2 separate regions of the Homo sapiens genome follow, and region 1 is linked to region 2. The links are contacts of gene promoters, found by promoter capture Hi-C in blood cells and fetal thymus (Javierre and others, 2016). All regions are on one chromosome and are shown on one strand. Each heading gives the region's core, a stretch centred on a gene start or on the middle of the fragment in contact. The rest is flanking DNA. Distances are from core to core; before and after follow the strand shown. Region 1 has its middle 3.2 kb from the start of MAGEE1. Region 2 holds the start of BRWD3 (bromodomain and WD repeat domain containing 3).

The links. The method cuts DNA at HindIII sites, captures the fragments that hold promoters and counts their contacts. A CHiCAGO score of 5 or more calls a contact.
Region 1: a fragment that was not itself captured here is called in contact with the fragment with the promoter of BRWD3 in region 2 in 1 of 17 cell types (non-activated CD4 T cells); the score reaches 7.2 in non-activated CD4 T cells.

What each region holds. Positions count from the first base shown.
Region 1 is chrX:76,423,076-76,425,898 of GRCh38, reverse strand. No RefSeq gene overlaps it. Among named protein-coding and RNA genes, the nearest start is that of MAGEE1, 3.2 kb to the left of the region's middle. The HindIII fragment of the contact is 2,421 bases long and covers 67-2,487 here.
Region 2 is chrX:80,808,588-80,811,287 of GRCh38, reverse strand. BRWD3 (bromodomain and WD repeat domain containing 3) reads left to right here and starts at 1,411. Exons shown (of 41, transcript NM_153252.5): 1 at 1,411-1,847; 2 at 1,984-2,042; 3 at 2,246-2,275; 4 at 2,690-2,700. The coding sequence starts at 1,817. LOC124905202 (a long non-coding RNA gene) reads right to left here and starts at 2,480. Exons shown (of 2, transcript XR_007068278.1): 1 at 1,995-2,480. RefSeq lists an enhancer at 1,097-1,176. The HindIII fragment of the contact is 3,163 bases long and covers 1-1,930 here.

The sequences.
Region 1 (2,823 bases), core at 28-2,527, 4.4 Mb after region 2:
GCAGTTTTTATGCCTGGGGCCTATTCAGAATGGGAGGCACAAAAAAACCTAAGATATTTCTAAGCTTTAGCAACAGATATTCCTAACCTAGGGTACAGTGATTTTTAAAGACCCTGAAGTTGTTCAAACCTATAAACTAAAAATTTTTACCTCTAGAAATATATTCTAAAGAAATAATAAGATATATGTGCAAATATTTAGCTAAAATAACTTTTATTATATAATTTGTTCTAGTATAACAGAGCTGAAAACTAAATGAATGTTAAATAACTAAAGAGTATTTGAAGAAATTATGGTACTAAAAATGGAATACCAGTAAGTCATTATAATGATATCAAAGAATTCCATTTCTAATAATGTATAGTTGATTGCAGCAGCCCTGCGGAAAAAAAACCCCAGAAATTTAGGTAAAGAAACCCTTTTATGGCAACAAAGGCTACCAATATAGCATCAGAAACCTATAAAGGCAATGAGGACTTCAAGAGTAATGATCTCAGAAAAAAGGGAAGTGCAAAGAGGTGAGTCTTACATTGTATACAAGTTTGTCACTTAAGGAATTTAATGATTTGTAAGCTGATAATTTGGAATTCTGAACTTACTGAAATAGTACATCAAAAATGAAGGCAAAATAAATACATGTTCAGAAATCAGTGCTGAGTAAATTGATCACCAGTACACCCACACTGAGGAAATACTGAAAGGTTCTCCTCTGAAACTGAAGAGATGCAAGAAGCGAACAGTAATAGAAAGGATAAATATGTGGGTAAACAGACATATTGACAATGTAAAACAATAATAATAATATGTTTTGTGTAATTTATATGTAGAATTAAAATATAGGAAACAAGTGAGTGCAAGAGATTTGGGGACTGATCAAGAAAAATATATACTACCACACGTTTTCAGTAACACACAATGAGTTTTTGTTGTTTGTCTGTTTTAGAATTTCAACTTTTATTTTAGATTCTGGGGATACATACACAGGTTTGTTATATGGGTATATTGCATGATGCTGAGGTTTGGAAAACAGATGATCTCATCACCCAGGTAGTGAGCATAATACTCAACAGTTTTTCAACCCATGACCCCCTTTCTTCTTCCCCCTTCTAATAGTCCTCCAGTGTCTGTTTTTGCCACCTTTATGTTGATGAGTACCCAATCTTTAGCTCCAACTTATAAATGAGAACATATGGTATTTGGTTTTCTGTTTCTGTGTAAATTCGCTTAGGATAATGGCCTTCAGCTGCATCCATGTTGCTGCAAAGGACATTATTTCATTAGTTTTTATGGCTGTGTTGTATTCCATGGTATATATGTACCACATTTTCTTTAGCAAATATCAGTGATAGACACCTAAGTTGACTCCATGTCATTGCTCTTGTTAATAAGGCTGCAAACAACTATGAGTGTATGTGTCTTTTTGGTTGAATGATTTCTTTTCTTCTGGATATATGCCCGATAATGTGATTACTGAATTGAATGGTAGTTGTGTTTTATGTTCTTTGAGAAATCTCCAAACTGCTTTCTATAGTGGTTGAACTATATATAGTGTTTATTATTACTAATTTACATTCCCACCAACAGTGTATAAGCATACGAGTTTCATTTGGTCAACCCTTTGACAGGTTTGCAAGGGCATGGGGTTAATCAAAGTCTGAGATCTTCCAGAGGCTGGTGGGAGGTCACAACCTAGAAAATGAGAGGACAAGCTAACTGGAGAGAGGGAGGGGAATCAAAGAGATGGCTTATACATGTAGCGATGTCTCTCAGCAGCAAGACAGGGAGTTGCTGGGTCAGAGATCTCTGAAGGGCAGCAGTAGGTTAGGGTTTTTATCTCCTGGAGTTTATCCTATCTATAGCTAACAGATGATTGTAGTTTCACAGGGACATGCAAAGAAGGCAGCCTCTAAATGGCTAACAATCTACTTATTGGTCTATATTTAAAACAATTGATGTGTAAAAAATTGAGTTTGGTACTGGCAGAATCAATATATAGAGACTATCTTTGGCTCATGCATATAACAGTCCATCCCCTGGCCCAATGTTGTCTTATAATTAAAATTGTATGTTATTTTGCAGTGCCTAAGTTTCTTGCCAGAAATAAAGGAGACAGAATCCTATAAGGGTACAAACAAGGATTTCAAAACCCTTTCATAGCCAATCTGCCCACGTAATGGAGGAAAGCCAGGGGAATCGATTAGAAAAAGGAGCAGATTTTAATTTGTTCAATTGTTCAGTCAGTAGAGTGACATTATAACCCCTTTGCTACATGTTCCTGTCTATCCATAATGCTAGAATCAGATTGGCAGAAGCAAGTCCAACATGCAGTTAAATTTGTCATTATATGTGTTTCTGTGACTTAAGATATCTGCAGGTTTAGGCAAATGAATGTTCCTCCTTATTTGGATTGGTGTGCCTTGCTTGAGTTTCCGGGTGATTGCCAGTAGTAAATAGCATCAGAATGTTTGCATGGGTCTAGAGTAAGCTTCACAGTATCTCTTGGCAGTTTTTAAAAAGTTATTAATTTATACATGCACCAAATTTGATTCTGAACTGTGGAGTACTCACATATGTGATCCTCAAAGGTAGGGCAAATTATTTCAAAAATAACCATCAATCATATTATAAATTTGGCCTATTTATTTCCCTGTTTATGATGATGTTGTTCTAATTTTAGTGGGAGGCCACCTGTTCCATCATTTTTATTCCAGGGAAACTTTTCTAGGGAGTCCATTTGTATAGCTCGAATAAGTTCAAGGGTGACCTCTTTAGAGGTGGCAATGTGATGTCACCAATAAGTTTCTTCCCAGGTTAGCTTTGATA
Region 2 (2,700 bases), core at 162-2,661:
CTGTACATTATACTTCAACTATAAAATTATTCAGTCTGGTATTTTGCTAAACTACTTGCAATGAGTTGTCTAGGTCTCATGTATCTTTTTATATCATTTTGTTGTATCAATTATTCATATTTGTTTTGTCAAGTTCCATGGCAATAACAACCAAAGATAAGCCTATCACTTCACAATTACCTCCTGTGGTTATTGCTTTCTGAGGAAAAAAAAAAATTACAAGTGAGAGCTAATCAACCTAGGCTAAGTTTATGTCAACTTAGAAATTCAAGGCCCACTGTGGTCAGTGGCAGAGCTGAGTGAGGAAACCCAATTCCCAAGAATATAGCCTTAAATTTAGATGAACCTTCAAATTGTAATATTTCAATGTAAATAATACATGCAACTTAAAATGCATTTCTGGTCTCATCAGGTTTAGGTGAGGGAGTGGGGTGGGGACAGGATGTTACGGGAAAGTAGGGAAGAAAAGGACCCGGTTTACTAATCTGTGTCAATTATCATACCAACCCCTTTCATCATTGAAGATTTCAGCAACCAAATACTGAAGGTCAGTGCGGTACCAAGGGTTGGGGTTATATATTAAACAGTGTAGTCCCGAACCTGTAGAAAACTATTGATACCTTGCATAGAGATAGGCAATAATACATAAAGATTATTGAAAACTCTTGGTTAAAGTACTTTAGTAGTATTTGAAAACACAATAGGAAATTACCCTGTAGGAATGGGATGTGTTAGATCCCAGCCGTAGATACGGCACGTGTTAAACTTTCAGAAGGGGAAACATGCTTCACGGCTGATTGCAAATTTCTCATGCAATATTTGTCAGAATCCAGGAGCATTTTAAGTGGTCTTCTAACAATATAAGCCCCGCACTTTGGACTGGTAAGTACAACATTTTCATTTGGTAAATAATAATAATTTTAAACAGAAACAAGTCACGACCAAATAGCGACTCATCCTCCCCCAGGCATAAAACCCTTTAGCCAGCTAGCCGCCTTTCCACGGGGTAGAGTATAAACAGCAAACAAAACCGCTTTGGTACCGGGAGGAAAAAGGGGAAAGGAGTCGAGTCAAAACACCGTCTCTTAAGTTCCTCAAGATCAACCCAGGGGGAAGGGTCCTCCACCGGAAAGGGCCGGATTGCCTTCACAGGAAGGGAAAGTCACTCCGGAGCTCGCAGACGCGAATGCCACCACAGAGTTCCAAGGCGGCTGCCAGAGCGTCGGCCGTCAGTTAGCACCTCCCCCTCCTTCCCAGAGCTGTAGCTAAGCAACCATCGGGCTCCGGGAGAGTCTAGGCTCAGCTGCTGTATTAGTGCCTCTAGCGGGGAACTATGAGCGCTGCAAAACCCTATCACCATTTTTACCCTCCCCTCTCTCCACCCCCTTTGCCCCCGCCCACCTCTTCGCCACTTCGGCTCCTCCCTCTTCTCGCTCCGTCTATCTCTCTCTCTCTCTCTCTCTCCGCCCCCCCACCCCCCGCGTCTCTCTCTCTCTCTCTCTCTCTCTCTCTCTCTCTCTCTCTCTCTTTTTCCTCTCTCTCTCTCTCTCTTCTCTCTCTCTCTCTCACTCACTCACTCTCTCTCTCCCTCTCCCTCTCCTCTCCTTCCTCCTCCGCCTCCTCAGCTCTTGGGCTAGAATATCTATGGGTCGAAACGTGATGCGATGAATTCGAGAGAGAGCGAAACTAGGACGAGGAGTGCGGCGGAAGCGGCGGGACTCCCGGGCATGGGGGCTTCACCACAATAGAGGCAGCGCCCCCACCCGCCCCCGCCAGCCCCTCCGGAGCGAAGCCCCCAAACCCCCTCGGGAAAAGGATGGCGGCAGCACCTACCCAGATCGAAGCCGGTGGGTAGCTGTGTCGGGGGGTGGGGGGGTGCTAAGGGAATGGGGGCTTAGCGCGAAGGCTGTCAGTTTCTTTTGAAAAAGCTTCTATTTCTCTTCTCTACCTCCCTCTGAACCTCTTTTCCCCCCTCTTCCCCAGAGCTGTATTACCTGATCGCTAGGTTCTTGCAGTCTGGACCCTGCAACAAATCCGCTCAGGTAAGGGGAAGAAAGAGATCTGGGAGTCGTGGTGAATGGTCCCAGTGGGGAAATCGAGGCAGCGGGACGAGCAGTTCCGTTGAGGGTGAGGGAAAGGCCGGCCTTGACTAGTCAAACGGTCAGCGGCTGGGCTTTAAGTGTGGAGGGAGGAATGGGTTGATGGCCCGAGCTGCTCCTCATATCTGTGTTTCCCTTTTGCTCAGGTGCTAGTGCAGGAGCTCGAGGAGCATCAGGTACGGAGCCCCTTCGGGAAGGGTGGGGAGGGTTGAGGTGAGACTGGAGGAAGGGGAGGGCAAGTCAGGGGCGGAAGACGGGCTGGGATAGAGGCTTCGATCTGGGTACCCGTAGCTGTTGTCACCGGGGTGAATTGGCTTCTTCCCTCAAAAGGGGCAGACAACGCTGGGGTCTTAACTCGTCCCCGCTTTATGCTTGTGGGAGGCAGTTTTTCAGGATTTCCTTCTCGACCCCCCTTCCCCCCCCCCCCCATATACTTGTCTAGCTCTGAGCCAATAGCTATCAGGCCGAGAGAAATAAAGACGGTAAAGTGTTGAGGACTGGGACACAGGTTGGGTCCAGTTGATGGGGAGCGGAGGCTTTTCCTTCATCATTTGCCTCCGCTTCCCCCTTTCTTTTCGTCCGGCCCCCAGCTGATTCCGCG